Regions from separate parts of the Homo sapiens genome. Here regions 2 and 3 are each linked to region 1. Evidence: promoter capture Hi-C in 16 types of primary human blood cells and fetal thymus (Javierre and others, 2016). All regions are on one chromosome and are shown on one strand. The core of a region is centred on a gene start or on the middle of the fragment in contact, and the rest is flanking DNA. Distances in the headings are between cores, read along the strand shown.

Region 1 (4,965 bases), core at 1,083-3,582:
ACAGGCTTCAAAATAAAGTAAGAATCCCTAAGGTTAAAAAAAAAAAAAAGGTCAAAGATGTAAATGTAAATGACAGTTTCATTGGTAAATCCTAACTGGGGAATTTCTCCTAAGCAAAAAATTATTGATATGCACAAAGATTTAGCTAATAGTGTTGTTTGTATTACGAAAAAATGGAAATAACCTAACTGTCCTACAATAGGGGATTAATTGGGTAAATTTTTATTTATCCTTGTGAAAGAATAATGTATACCTATTACAAATGACATTGCATAAGTACATTTCATGACATGGAAAGATGCTCATTATGGCTAAATATACATATGCATATACGGGTATATTTATACCTGTATCTGTGAATTAAAATTAAGTTTTTGTTTTAAAGCATTTTTTATAGTGTCCTGTTGCCTTCACAGGGTCACTGTGGTCAACTTATCAGACCACAAAGATGCAAACTTCCTTTCCCTAATCTCATCCTGAATTTTCCAGTGGATGTGTCAGGTTCTCAGGGGAAGGACAAGCATCTATTTGCTGTACCAAGAAAGGATCCCACGACTCAGGGGTCACTTGTTTTCTCTTATTCTTGCTCAGAAGGTCTTGGTCCCTGTAGCAAGTCCCCACTTCCATTTGTCACTTAAAGTACCCCAAAACCCACCTTTCCATTCCAGAGTGTCATTGCCCTCCACTTTGCTTAACACTCAGTTAGGTTCCTTCCTCAGTTTCTCCTACCTCCTTTCCTCTCCTAGCTCCTGACCCACCTCTATCTGGTAGACAGTTTTGCCCATTCCTGCTGGTATCCTGGGAACCAGGTTTGGCATTGGTCACAGCACTCAGATTGCAATGCGCCAGAATGGGATTAACCCATGCATTTCCTCTACGGGAGGGAGGTAGAGTGACTGGCAAGTCGAATGTTGCATGGGTGTGTCTATTTATAGCCTGCAAAATGGGGTGCTGCCCTGGAGGGAGAGCTGGGGTGAAGGAAATGACACGCCTGGGAGAGTAACTTACTTCTGCAGGAGCTTTAGGGAGATGAAGGAAGAAGCCTCCTGGGCCAGAGTTTTGGATGGAAAATGAACACCCAGTCAAGTCTCTAGGACTATACGTGGGGCGGGGACTAGTTGTGCGCGAGAGTTAAGTAGGGGCCTTACCAAGGAGCATGGGACCTGGGCTCCCCAACCCTTTGGCTAGCCCCATGGCGTTGATCAGCCCTGAGCTAATTCCTCCATGCTGCCCAGAACCTCTCTGGGCCAAGCCCTGGGGACTCAGAGATGACAGCAATGCTTCCATTGCGGAACTCCCATACGCGGGCCACAGGGAGGCTCTGGAGGCGGCCTGAGGCAAGAGTGCTAGGAGGGATCAGAGCTAGCCCACCCCTACCCTCACTCAGCCGTCTGGGCTTCTCTGAACCCCTTCTCCTCCTCTGTTCCCTAAAGCCAGCCAGGGGGAGTCCCAGGGAGGCAGACCGAAAAGGGGTGGGGTGTCATCCTGGTCACTATTAGACCCTGCAACGGCGACCTTGAAAACTACTCAGCGTCTGTTGCCCGAGTGGAGCATAGTGCTTTACAATCTCTTCCCATCACAGCAAACCATCAAGGTAGGGCTACTATTATTTTATGGTTGAAAAACAGAGGTCCTGCGTCCCTTGGGGGCTGTGCCAGCAGCGGCCAAGTTGGGATTTCCCCTGGTCCAGCAGCCCCAGACAGCACACGGGGCAGGGTAGGCTTTCTGCCTTCTTCACTTCCCCAGGGCAGGTGAGTGACCTGGAGGGAGGGGGTCACCCCTAAAAACAGGGGTAGTGCTAGGACTGAAACCCTCCCTTCTTGATATCCCACTGGCAAGCTTGAGGAGCCAGGCTGCCAGTCGGGAGATTCGGCCCAGTGTTCCCACTGGAGAGGGCGGCAAGTGCCCGGGCGATCCCCTCACCTGCGTTCGGGAGATATACCCCCGCCCCCGCCCCGCCAGGAGGGTGAAAAGATGGCCCCAGGAGCCAGCCGGCTGGGACAAGGCGGAGTGAGAGGACAGGCTGGGGCCAGGGGCGCTGGGCTGTCCCGGGCAGCCCTCCTCCGGGCAAGCCGGAGCAGGGGTGGATTGGGAGCGCTCGGGGCGGGCCCGCGGTGGCCCCGGGGCGGTGGCGCCCGGCCGGAGAGGGTGGGGCGGAGCAGCCGCCCTGTACTTCCCCTTCGCCGCTAGCTCTACAACAGCCTGATTTCCCCGAAATGACGGCACGCAGCCGGCCAATGGGCGCCCGCGCGGCTGTCCGGGGGCGGGGCCGGCCAGGGCTGGGGAATCCCGCTAAGTGTTTGGATTGCTCGGTGGCGCCGCTGCCCTGGCAGAGCTCGCCACTCCTTAGTCGAGGCAAGACGTGCGCCCGAGCCCCGCCGAACCGAGGCCACCCGGAGCCGTGCCCAGTCCACGCCGGCCGTGCCCGGCGGCCTTAAGAACCCGGCAACCTCTGCCTTCTTCCCTCTTCCACTCGGAGTCGCGCTCCGCGCGCCCTCACTGCAGCCCCTGCGTCGCCGGGACCCTCGCGCGCGACCGCCGAATCGCTCCTGCAGCAGAGGTGAGTACGCCTTTGAGGCGCGGGGCACCGGCGGCGTCGAATAAAAGGCGCGCGGGGCACCAGGAAGTGGGGGGTCGAAAGCTCCAGGCTGGAGACTCGCCGGCGCGCGGCGTTGCCCGGGCCTCCGCGCGGGCTCCGGGGGGCGCCGGAGGAGCTGCGAGCCGCGGGCCGCGGCGCGGGGAGGGCGGGACGCGGCGTGGACCGCCCACCCGGACGAGGCTGCCGGCGCCCGGCAGCTTTCGCAGATCTGCGTGCGCGCAGCCGCCAGGGGCCTGTAGGTGGCCCGCTATGTTCGTCCCGCGCATCCACACGCCGTGCCGGGGACCGAGTGTCAGCCCACGCGTGGGCGCCCAGTGCTCCCGGCTTTCGGCGGTCCCAGCTCCGCGCCCAGGCGACAGGTTTTGGGCTCCCTGTGCTGGTGGCAAGGGCTGGCTTACTGCCCAGGTGGCTGGAGGGAATCGTGACCTACGGAGACTGCGGGAAGAGGCGCCACAGGTGTTCCTTGGGCCACTTCTCCAGAGGAGGGGAAACCGGGCCGGAAGGGTTAGCGTCCTGGTCTTAGCGTTGTGGGCGCTGTGGCTGTCAGGAAGGCGTAGAATGGATTCAGGGGGGCGGGAGGGGGCTGTTCAGGGTGACGGCTAGCCCTTTGCTAGCTAGTGGTTACAACTCAAGTCAAGGGAATTTCTTCTTGGCATCAAGCAAAAGAAGTCCCTCCCTTCCCAAAGGATTTGAATTTTGAGCGAAAAGTTCTGAAATTAGGGTATCTGTGCATTTTGTCTCTTTTCCTGCATATGAATCCTGAAGCCATCACTTGCATGCCTGTCTCCTCCAGAGACTGGCTGGGAGGGGCTGAAGGAAGGGGCAAAAGCATTTTTGCCTAAGATGCTGAAAAAATTTGGAGAGCAGTTTTATTCCAGCGCAGCTCCCCTCCGCACTGAGTGTAGTACCTAGCAGCTGGCTGAGGTGAGGGGAGGGTAACTAAGTGACCTCGGGTGGGGCAGGTCACTGCCCAGGTACTGTTCAACAGATTCCAGACTGGAGCCTCTGTGTTCTCTTTACAGCCAACATGCCCATCACTCGGATGCGCATGAGACCCTGGCTAGAGATGCAGATTAATTCCAACCAAATCCCGGGGCTCATCTGGATTAATAAAGTGAGTGTAACTCTTTGGGTTTTCCTGCCACTGTTTTAACCCATGTACTTCTGGAGGGACCAAAGCTTCAGATGCAGCTCAAAAAGGGAAGTGATAACGGGACAAGCAGGTGTTTCTCCCAGTGGGTCCTGCATGCAGGGAGTGTGCACGGCCCAGCCTGGGCCTCACTTGCATGACTCCTGCCTTCTTCCCTTCTTGAGGTAGGGCACCCACCTGAAGGCACTTCCAGTTTCCAGCAGCAAGACTTTCCAGCATCTGCAGAGCTGGAGTTCTGCTCTCCTCTAAGCGAGACCCTTACAAACATACACAGCACTCTGCAGGGCTCCAATCGAACAAATAGAAGACTGAGAAGTGGATGCTGCTGGGCAGAAACGTGCCTGGCTTAGCAGAGGACAAACGAGTTAATCTTGCACCAGTCACTCTGGCCCAAGAAGCCTATAGCTGGTGCACTTGGGGCAACATAGACCCTATAGACTTAGTAGCAATGATAGTATTCATAATAATAGCTAATGCTTACTGAACACTCCCTGTGTGCCTGGCACCTGCTAAGTATGTTATTTACATTGTGTCATTTAATCCTCGCAGTAGTCCTGTGGGTTAGATCTTACTAATGTCATCATTTTCAGATAAGTAAACAGAGGCACTGAGAGGTAGATCATAAGATCACACAAAAAGTGATGAAGCCAAGATTTGAACTTGAACGGTCTGACTCAGAAATCTTTACTGTTAACCATAAGTGATATAATAACAGTAAGACCTTAGACTTCATATTTGTCACTGTGTCCCTACACATCCTCTGGTTTTTAATCCTCAAAATTTTGTTGGATATGTTTTCTCATTTCCGAGAAGAGAAAACTGAGGGGCAAAGAGATACAGTGACAATGCCAGGGTTACACAGTGTTCACCATCCAAGTCTAGCCCAGAGCTCCCTCAGTGGTATGACCAGGACCCCCTGTGTAAGAGCCCATGCTCCCAGGTGTCCTGAGGAGTCCTTTCTAATGGAAGAAGTTCTTACTTCCATGTGGGTGCTTACAAGCCAGAGAGAAACATCCCAGAGCTTCAAAACCAGGGCTTTGGGGGAGGGTGCCCTGTGTGGGTCCTAGCACATGTGTAACAGGCAGAGGGAGGTCTTTGTGAGCTAATAATGCTGCAGCTCATCCAAACTAGGTGTCCCTCCTGAGAGATCCAGAGTGGTCTGTTTAAGCCAGCCTCAAGATGGGTGTCCAAGCCAGATGTCAGGGGAAAAAAGGGG
Region 2 (4,965 bases), core at 1,197-3,696, 380 kb before region 1:
GTTCCACCACCACTATCATCTCCACACTCCACACACACACATAAGTATCCTTCCCTCCTTACCTGGCCCAACAGCAACAGGAAGATCATGAGGACTGCACAAAGTTTGAGGTGCCACATCTTGACAGGGGGAGGATGTTGGAGCCTGAAAGCCAGGGACAGTTCCTACTTCCTTTTATAGACTGACATCAACTCTTGCATTGTTACTGGGTGAGATGGGGGCAAAGTTTATATTTGTAATCAGAATCAATTTAATAAGTTAATGTCTACCGGAGGAATGTGCTCAAGGGCCACCTTTCAGGCACGTTGTATTTACTGATCCCTCATCTGGACTTTGAGTGATTGTGTTGCTGGCATGGACCCTTTCGCCCATTTTACCAAAAGTCAGCACTGCCCTTCCTTCCCTTTGAAAGCCACGTGAAACCATTGAGGGAGGTCAGGCAACTAGCCACATTTCTATTCCAAAATAGCTCAGTGAGATCACTCCCATAGAATTCCAATAATGAAGTCTTCAGAAATAATGTTGGCCCCTTTCAGCCTTGTCTAGGAAAGAAGCACTGATCTATTGTGTACAGCCAATTGGATAAGGCCCTTATCTCCTTTCTGTGGGAGGATGCTTCAGCAAGGCCTACAGTTCCCCAGATCGTCCACTTGCTTAGATGGACTGTCACCCTAATCTGCACCTCTTTATCTCACTAGTAAAATGAAGACCCAGCTGTGGAAAGTTCAAAGTCTGGCCTCCTGCCCTCTCAGGGGAATGGCTGGATGTGAGACTTATTTGGACCACAGGTGAATTGAATAATTATAGGTTTCTTTTTGTTTTTAAGCACATGTAGATGAGGAGGTAACAAGATCTCCTAAATCAGAGGGAGAGCTTGTGTAGTGACTGTATTAAAAGCCTTGAATTATGGGCTTTCTTCCCAGTAGTTGAGTGGGGCCTTTCCTTCCGGCAGCTTCAGGGCAACAGGCATAGGGATGAGATACCTCCAAAGCCCAAAGCATCCATCAGTTTAAGTAGGAACTGCTGCAGATTTCTAGACCAAGGGAGGACATGTATCTAAACGATGGGTAGTTATGGGTACTCGTGAAATGACATGGGCATTTTAAGTTTGAGGGGAAAGCTGTGAATTCTGAGTAAGGAGACTGATTGGACTTTAGATCTTCCTATGACCTGGGAGGATAATAAGCTTAAGACAAAGACAACAAATTCTTTCTGCCGGGCATCATACTGAAAACTTGGCTAATACCTCTTCCCAAGGGCCGTCTCATCTTCACAGGTTGGGTATTTGGATAAGAACCTGCTTGTTCCTTTACTCCAGGAAAACGTGGAGGAGATGCACAACAGCTGAAGGTAGAAAAGGATGGCCACTGACCCTGCTGCCAGTCAGACAGAGGGAGCTTCTTGCCAAGGGAGAAGCAGATGGTTTGATGGACCTCAGAGCTGGAATTGGGCAGGATGTGACCACAGATCTGACTGTCCTGATTCTAGTCCTCTCAGAATCATGGAGCCAGGCCTTGAGGGGGATGCCACTGCATGCACTTTAGGAACATTGAGAAGAGACCTATATACCAACGAACCAGTTGAGACTAGTTCTCTGCTCCCTCCCTTCACCCCTAAGCTTGGATACTGGATGATCCCAGACAGGTGCCTAAACTGGGAACTTTTGCTGGGAGGGGAAGTGGCTATGTGGGTGACCTAGTGAGCACTGGGTAAGAACACAAATGATTAGATAAGCAAAGGACTGAACAACGTGATGTCCTAGAGCCAGTTGGGTCTGTGGCCTCAGTGTCAGCCTCCCCTTTACCAGTCTAGAGTGATGTGCCAAATGGGATTTGGAAACTGTTCATCCAAAAGATGAGTAATTCTCCTAATCCTCCATTTCTGCCTTCCTGTACTTCTAGCAGGATCAAACTAGCATGGTGTTAATTTGTAAAGCTGATAACACAGTCAAGGAAAGAAAGAGCTTGAAGCCCTTGCCCCTCTGTGTGTAGGCGGAAAGGACCATTCATCCTCATGAGTGTGACAACATTGCAGAGGCCTTTGGTTCAAGCCTCTATGTTGTATGCCACCCTCTCCCCAAAAGAAAAAACCATTAGTCACTGTCTGTGGAAGGAACCACTGTTGGGGAAGGGGAAAGTATTTTAACATGTCTACGTGAATGCTAGTTGTTTTAGTTAAGTATGGAGCAAAAATCAAACTCAAAGCAACATCCAGGCAGCAGTTAGCTGAATTGGCAGTATTTGTCCACAGCCATCCCATACTTGAGAGACTGTGAAGGCCTCTTCTTGAAATTAAAAAAAAAAAAATTTCATGGATTCTACAATCAAGTATTTTGCTCAGTGAATATACACGTAACTGCATGCTCCTTCATCCAATAGAAAGGCCTAAGTAGCCTTTAACAGTTGCAGCCGTAAGAAGGTAGAATGCTTGGCTGGTAAGCAGTAGCCTGGGGTCTACAGAGTGCAACTGCCCATAGGCCAGCCCTTCCCCTTTTTGGGCTTTAGTCTCCTATTCTGTCAGTTTGGGGGTTCAAATGACTAATTTACAAGAAGAAAATGAGACTGAAGCAGATTTGATAGCTGAGAGCTTGGTAACTCTGGATACAACTCTCAAGAGATTTTATGCTTCTGAGGCAAATGCTTAGGATGAAATGGGAGAAAGAGGGTATAGCTACATGAGCAGCTGTTTGAAACACATTCCAGGTCGATCACTAGGAGTTGGCAGTAATTGGAAACTTTTTGCTGTCCCTAAGCAGGAGGTGCCTAATAAAAGATGAAAGACTCTGAAATGGAAAAACTTTACCAGGTAAAATTTCAACAAAAGGTCAAGGTGTATTTGCTTTTTTGCTAGCTGGAACTGGCATAGACTTTTGGGCCTACCTTAGGCCTGCATTTTGAGGACTGCCTGCAAACTAAAAGAGCAAGGGCATTCCTTTCATCAGACTCTGCAGCCCATAGATAAAAACGCTTGTGGGGGCAGGAGCATTTGGAAAAAGAAAGGTCAAATGGAGCAAATGGTTGTGCCAGAGTAGCAGGTAAGGGATCCATACCCAGGACTGGAGGCTCCAGATGGGTTACCAGCACTGAAGCCCACAGCAGCTGTCTTTCCTTCAAAGGTTTTACTCAGGTTCTCCTCTGAGGATTTCTGCAAATGTCCCCTAAAATGATCCCAGGTCATGTATAGGAGCACTGAACTACTAAAACTCACCACATTCCACACACCCACCACCTCAGCACTCCTGCCACACAGGTGAGATCCATTTCCCCAAGCTTAGAGAGGGAAGCCCTTTGATGAGACACAGGCTTAAAGCAGACTAATTTCATCCAAAGCAGAAGCTCCACACATCACAGGGCTTACGGCAGAGTCATCTCAGTAGAGCACTCCTGGAATAAAAAGAATAGGCTTGGTGCCTGGTTTGGGCTGAGAAAAGGGATTTGGATCTTTTGAGCTGGTCTCTCCAAAGGAGTCAAAGAACCAGGGAGAAATAGTCTAAGTGTAGAACAAGGTGAGCAAGATGGGAGAGGGTGGCCGTCTACTTCGGCGGGTTGGGGCAAACACCAGAGGGAGAAAGACATTAACGGCCTCTCAAAGCAGTGGTCCTCCTCTGGGCTGTGAACTCTTTGAAGCTATGCAAGGTAAGGATGGGTCCACAGTTTTCATCATTCTCAAGTCTATGACCCAAATATGTTGCAAGACCTGGGAATAAATCTGGACAAAGAGGCAAATGGGAAAATTGGACTGTCTTTTGGGGGTGAGGTAGAAGAGTTCCTCAGTTAGTTGCCCTGTGTTAAGCCCGTACCATCTTGCCAGACACTTGTCACTCATTTCACCATCACCACAACCCAAGAACTTTATAATATTTCTATTTTATGGGTGAGAAGCTTAAGGCTCATGAAAGTAGGTTTCTTGCCTATATCACATAATGAGGAAGTGACGGGCTAAGAGGACGAGCCCAAGACTGTAAGACTCAGCCTTTTCCCCGTATCCTGCCTCACAATGTAGTTTATCTTTTAGGTTTTGTTTTGAAGTCTCGCTCTGTCACCCAGGCTGGAGTGCAGTGGCACAATCTTGGCTCACTGCAACCTCCACCTCCCAGGTTCAAGCGTTTCTGCCTCAGCCTCCTGAGTAGCTGGGATTATAGGCGTGTGCCACCACACTCAGCTAATTTTTATATTTTTAGTAGAGACAGGGTTTCACCATGTTGGCCAGGCTGGTCTCAAACTCCTGACCTCAAGTGATCCATCCACTTCAGCCTCCCAAAGTGCTGGGATTACAGGTGTGAGCCACTGTATCCGGCCATGTTTTGAAGTATCTTAACTTTTGATTCTTAAAAGGCAATAGCAGTAATTAGGATAATAAAGATACAGTCTGGCCAGGCACGGTGGCTCACACCTGTAATCCCAGCACTTTGGGAGGTCGAGGCAGGTGGATCACGAGGTCAAGAGATCAAGACCATCCTGGCCAACATGGTGAAACTCCGTCTCTACTAAAAAAAAAAATAAAAATACAAAAATTAGCTGGGTGTGTTGGTATGCGCCTGTAGTCCCAGCTATTTGGGAGGCTGAGGCAGGAGAATCACTTGAGCCCGGGAAGCGGAGGTTGCAGTAAGCTGAGATTGCGCCACTAAACTCCAGCCTGGTGACAGAGCAAGACTCCCATCTCAAAAAAAAAAAAAAAAAAACACAGTCTGACCCAGAATCAAAGTTGCTGCTAGCAGGAAGAGTCCTTAGAAGAGTTTCTAAAAACGGATCTCAGATCCCATAGCATATACTGTACTGACTGAGCTATGACAACTCATCATATTCCACATACCTGCTACCACAGGTGAGATCCATGTCCCGAAGCTTAGAGAGAAGCCTCTCTAAGGAACTAGAGGCATAAAACTGCCAACCACACCTACCCCCACCATCTCTCGGTGGGCGAAGGGAAAATGGTATCTTTAATACCAAAAAGATAATTTAAAGG
Region 3 (4,965 bases), core at 1-2,500, 330 kb before region 1:
CAGAGGGCAAGAATGAGCTCACCACATTTGTTCCGTTATCAGCACCTCAGACTTCAAGACTTTGTGGGGACCAGAAGCCCGGTGAACTGACCCTTCAGGATACTGCCAGCAGAGGGCGCTGTCCTAATGGTGAAAGCTGGTACCTACGCTTCGCCATTCGCAGCTTCTCCAGCTTACCAGGCCCTCTGGGCCAGCCACAGGGACTTTGACTTGCCCTGCTGAGCAGTTAGGCCCGAAAGCTGGAGCTGAGCCTTTTGCTTCTTTCAGAAAGAAACTGACCAGCCAGGCAGGGAAAGGCTGGCTGTCTTTGCCACTGGGCCTTTGTTGGAAAGTTGCTGGCCAATGAGAAGTGGGAGAGAGGGCAGTCGGGGGGAGGGGTGTGGGGGGATTTAAACGGTACACTGATTAAATCATATCCTCCTAATACGGATTCGATCAGTGCACTTTTTGATTTCGAACATAAGTATCAAAAAAACAAAAAAAAAAAAACAAAAAAGCCTTGCGTAGTCTCCCAGGGTGAGAAAGCGGGTTGCATGGGTCCCTATAGGGGTTTCTGCGCCCCCATCTCCTTTAGCCGCCGGCACCCCTGCCCCATCCTCCTTCCTGGCTGCCTGCCGCGGTGCTTTCGGGCTTTTGGGGGAGCACAGGCCGCGGCTGGCATCGTTGCTGGGCAACAGGCAGCCCCGCGGCCGCCTCCCCAGCTCGCTTATTCCGCCCCCGCTGCTCCTCCTAACATGGATTTAATCAGTGTACTTTTTACCTTCAGGCTGTAAATTAGAAACGGAACAGGGAAGCCATGTTCGGCGGTGCCCGAAACCGGCGCGCAGTCTGTCTTGAACATCCTGCTCGGCACAAAACTTACCCCTGAGAGCGGCTGGCGCAAACCTCAGGGCTCCTCATTGGAACAAATTGCCGTGCTGTGCATTCACATGTAAACCAGGAGCTCAGGAAATTTAGGTCAAATGTGTTTGAGGGCTGCAGAGAGAAACAGGTGAAAGGGGCATTTGGGGGCGCAGGAAGGCGGGAGGCGGCAATTGCTGAGGACCCCATAGTGTTGCTGTCAGCCTAGCTACAGCGTGGAAGGTCACAATGGACGTTTACCTGTTGTCTTTGATGTTTAAATCAGCACCCACTTCCCACGAGGAGGATTTTTTTTTCTTTGAGGAGAGAATCTAGATCTCGATGTCTCTGCTTTCTTTTTTCTTCCCTGCAGGCACACCTGAGGCACCCCGGCCCCAGGTTGAAGTCTGGAGGTGTGGCAGTTCCAAACAGGTGAGGCGGGTTCAAGGCAAAAGGCTATCTGGAGAGCAAAAGAGAATCTAAGTATAGGCCAGGCGCCTATAAATACAGGCTGACTGTCGCCTGTAATCACAGCAGTTTGGGGGGCCGAGGCGGGCTAATTGCCTGAGCTCAGGAGTTCTGAGCTCAGGAGTTCGAGACCAGCCTGGCCAACATGGTGAAACCCCCGTCTCTAACAAAAGATTAGCCAGGCGTGGTGGTGCACGCCTGTAATCCCAGCTGCTCGAGAAGCTGAGGCACGGAAATCGTTTCAAGCGAGAATCGCTTGAACCAGGGAGGCGGAGGTTGCAGTGAGCCGACATCCCACCATTGCACTCCAGCTCAGGTGGCTGAATAGCAGTGGTTAGGTCTGGAAGGTAGGAGTAGGAATGCTAGAGGAATGTGAGTTTAGAAAGACATTATTTCTATTTTAACTAAAGTGATATCATGTACAGAATATGGGATAATTTCCCTCTTGTGGGAATACATTTTTCCTAGTAGAGTCGATTGTTACTTATGTATACAATCACCAACATGTTAAAAGAATGGTGATCATGGCAGGGCACGGTGGCTCACACCTGTAATCGCAGCACTTTGGGAGGCCAAAGCAGGCAGATCACCTAAGATCAGGAGTTTGAGACCAGCCTGACCAACATGGTGAAACCCCATCTCTACTAAAAATTCAAAAAATTAGCCAGGCATGGTGGCACGTGCCCGTGATCTCAGCTACTTGGGAGGCTGAGGCAGGAGAATCGCTTGAAGCCGGGAGGCAGAGGTTGCAGTGAACTGAGATTGCACTACTGCACTCCAGCCTGGGTGACAGAGCGAGACTCCATCTCAAAAAAGAAAAAAAAAAAAAGAAAGAATGATCATGTAAAGCAGATCCACAAATCAGAGCTATTTGGTTTTGGGATGCAGCCATTTACCCCCTGGAACCAACTCGGCACCCCACATTGGTGTTGCAGTTCATAAAGAGCTCTATCCACTCATTCTACGTGCTCTTCCTTCCCCCACAGCCTGTGAAATAGGTACAGGAAGCCTTTTGTCCCGTAGACAGGGAAGATGGAGTTTGGGGAGCTGGGTGACTTGCCCAAAGACACTAAATGAGTAAAAAGGGCTGAGATGAGCCCACCCTGCTTCCTGCAATAGGATAGCAGACAGTGTCATGAAAAAGAGAACCAGGAGACTATTCCAGCTCTGCATTTACTAGCTGTGAGGCCTAGACAAGTAACTTATGACTTCTCTAGGCTTCAGTTTCCTCACTTTAAAATCAAGATACAAATAGTACATACCTTATAAACTTGCGATTAATACCTGCAAAGTGTTTCGAATTGTGCCTGGCACTTAATCAGCACAGGTTATACAGTATATGCATTACCCTGGATCTCCATTAGGTAAGGGAGACATGCTTAAGAATAACCTCCAACCTCCATTAAAGGATATGTAAAACTTTACTTAAAAGCTTGCTATGGATACGACTCATACCCATCTACATCAACAATTCTCCCTCATTAAAAGGCGTGATTTCGTCCCTGTGACAATTCTTGTCAGCTAAATTGCCTTCACAATTATTTTCTGTTAGTGTTGAAAATACCCTTCTAACGGTGTGCCTCCTGCTAGGTGATATATGATTCTTAAAAACTTTCCCTATGCGTATGAAACTATAATTTCTTATCGGCTTACCTTATAGTTGCAGAAAGCTTTGGCCTGCAAGGAAAAGCAGTGTTTTCTAACACCTGAGCTTTAGGTATATTGATCCTAAACTCTTGCTAAATGTTTTACTTCACTTGGAAGGCTTGCAGCACACTCTTCTGAAACACATAGATTCTTCTGGCAGTTCAAATGACCCTCCTCTGATTTAAGTGTGCAATAAACATTAGTTATTGTTATTACTACTTTGCTGGTTTAAACGTTGTCTTTATCAAGGCAGGTCATACCTGTGTCTGTGACCTTTGTCTGAGGCCCTGTCTGAGTCAGGTGTCTCTTTTACCATGGAAAATCTCTAGTATTTTATTCTGTTTTCTAGACTGTCAGCTACTCCAATTGCTATAATTGTGTCTCCTACAATTTTTCAGCAGAGGCAGAAGATTTAATTTGCATTTTAAAATAATTTATGCAGAGTTCCAGGCAAGGAAGGTGGGAAGGTCACATCAGGGCCCACATTTATCTACAGTTCTCCATTACGATATCCATGTGTGGTTGACTCCTTTACTTTGCAGAGCAATCCAACTTCTTTCAATAACAGAATGCTTGAAAGAGGCAGAAGAATGAAGGAAATTAGATAAAAAGAAAAGAAAAATACAATAGCAAAAACTGTACAATTTTTAAGGGAAGTACATCACCACTCAAGCAGAAACAAAATGGAGGACTGTTTATTTCATTGCTCAATCAAAACATTCCATGAAAGACTGCCTTAAGTAATTTCAAAGGCTTCACTGATACATATGGGGGTGGGGAGGGAAGCTCCACTACCCCATGCCACAAAACTATTTGATATAACTAATGACATGCAAACACAATTTGCAAAAGCAGAGCATTATCACAATATGACATTTAAAAAATTGGTTGAGTAAACAGATTTCATATCTTTAAAACATAAAATAATTACACTGTATTGAGCCTGGGAAATCTTGGCAATATCTACAAACTTTCTCATTTACAGATAGGAACAAAGGCCCAGAGAAGTTAAGCCACTCATCCAAGCTCACTGAGCAGAGATTCTGCATTTGCTATTTTGGAATAAGTTGTCTACTTTCAAATGGTTTTTTAAAATGGGTATTACATACTTTTTGTTTGTACAGAACAGTCATATAAAATAGTTGCTCCTTAATTGTATCCATTACTATTTAATCGCTCATTTTTCTGTAATACTATTACTTTTTTAATAGTCACCTATTTCACTGAAAGGCTCCACTGGATTTGAAAACCAGATTCAGAAACATGGCACAAAGGTGCAATTCACAAACCACAATTTTTTTAAAAAATTAAGTAGTCATGCCAAATCAAAATAGCCACCCACAAGTGCCAAACACGTTTCTATTTCATGATGGAGACAACCACAAATTAAAAGTATCTGTCAAAATGTCTCTTTTCTCTAAGTCACCTTTACTTTCAAGATGTACTTGTTTGCAAATATTTAGCATTCACAGTACAACTGAAATTAGTTACATTCATAATGGTCACAATCGTTATTCTGTGTTCAAGACTCTCCAGAATCTTGATTGCCTAAAACGAGGTAGATAAACTTTTAAGTTTGTTGGTTGGGATTAATTTCCTTTAGATCTTGATCATCTATTTTTTAAATAGAATTCCAAAGTATTTAGCAAAAAAAAAATTGAAAATGTCTAAGCACTTTGCCTAAAAGTGGAAAAATATAATTCCAAAAGGTTATTACGAAAGTTGCATTACCTCATTTCAATTTAAAAACAGAATAAAAGCATCAAATTACAAAACCACCACATATCTTAAAGCTGACAACCTAACATCTTTCAACATTTAAAGAGACCCTTGCTCTAGCTCTGTCTTGGGATTGTGTAGCTGCAGAGGCATCAGGTGAAGGCTTTCAGGGGCCAGACCAGCTGCTGCCCCTTAACCTTTGACCCTGGATTTCAAGTTCCCTCTAGAGTTCAGGCCTGTCTCCTGGAGTTCTTTATAGGAAGCTCTCACTGATTTCTCAAATCCCATCTC

What was found. Contacts are between HindIII fragments. The CHiCAGO score rates a contact against its expected background, and 5 or more counts as called.
Region 2: a contact is called between a fragment that was not itself captured here and the fragment with the promoter of IRF1 in region 1, in 1 of 17 cell types (monocytes). The highest score is 5.5, in monocytes.
Region 3: a fragment that was not itself captured here is called in contact with the fragment with the promoter of IRF1 in region 1 in 5 of 17 cell types (fetal thymus, monocytes, total B cells and 2 more); the score reaches 8.6 in fetal thymus.

What each region holds. Positions count from the first base shown.
Region 1 is chr5:132,488,140-132,493,104 of GRCh38, reverse strand. IRF1 (interferon regulatory factor 1) reads left to right here and starts at 2,332. Exons shown (of 10, transcript NM_002198.3): 1 at 2,332-2,560; 2 at 3,622-3,713. The coding sequence starts at 3,627. RefSeq lists enhancers at 1,081-1,130, 1,171-1,380, 872-1,517, 1,651-1,790, 2,812-3,459 and silencers at 1,931-2,380, 2,641-2,920, 3,451-3,500. The HindIII fragment of the contact is 1,939 bases long and covers 1,842-3,780 here.
Region 2 is chr5:132,868,849-132,873,813 of GRCh38, reverse strand. It overlaps LEAP2 (liver enriched antimicrobial peptide 2), which reads right to left and starts at 146. Exons shown (of 3, transcript NM_052971.3): 1 at 63-146. The coding sequence starts at 119. The HindIII fragment of the contact is 1,651 bases long and covers 1,621-3,271 here.
Region 3 is chr5:132,815,456-132,820,420 of GRCh38, reverse strand. It overlaps SOWAHA (sosondowah ankyrin repeat domain family member A), which reads right to left. Exons shown (of 1, transcript NM_175873.6): 1 at 3,635-4,965. Among named protein-coding and RNA genes, the nearest start is that of SOWAHA, 4.6 kb to the right of the region's middle. RefSeq lists a silencer at 54-133. The HindIII fragment of the contact is 2,985 bases long and covers 1-2,742 here.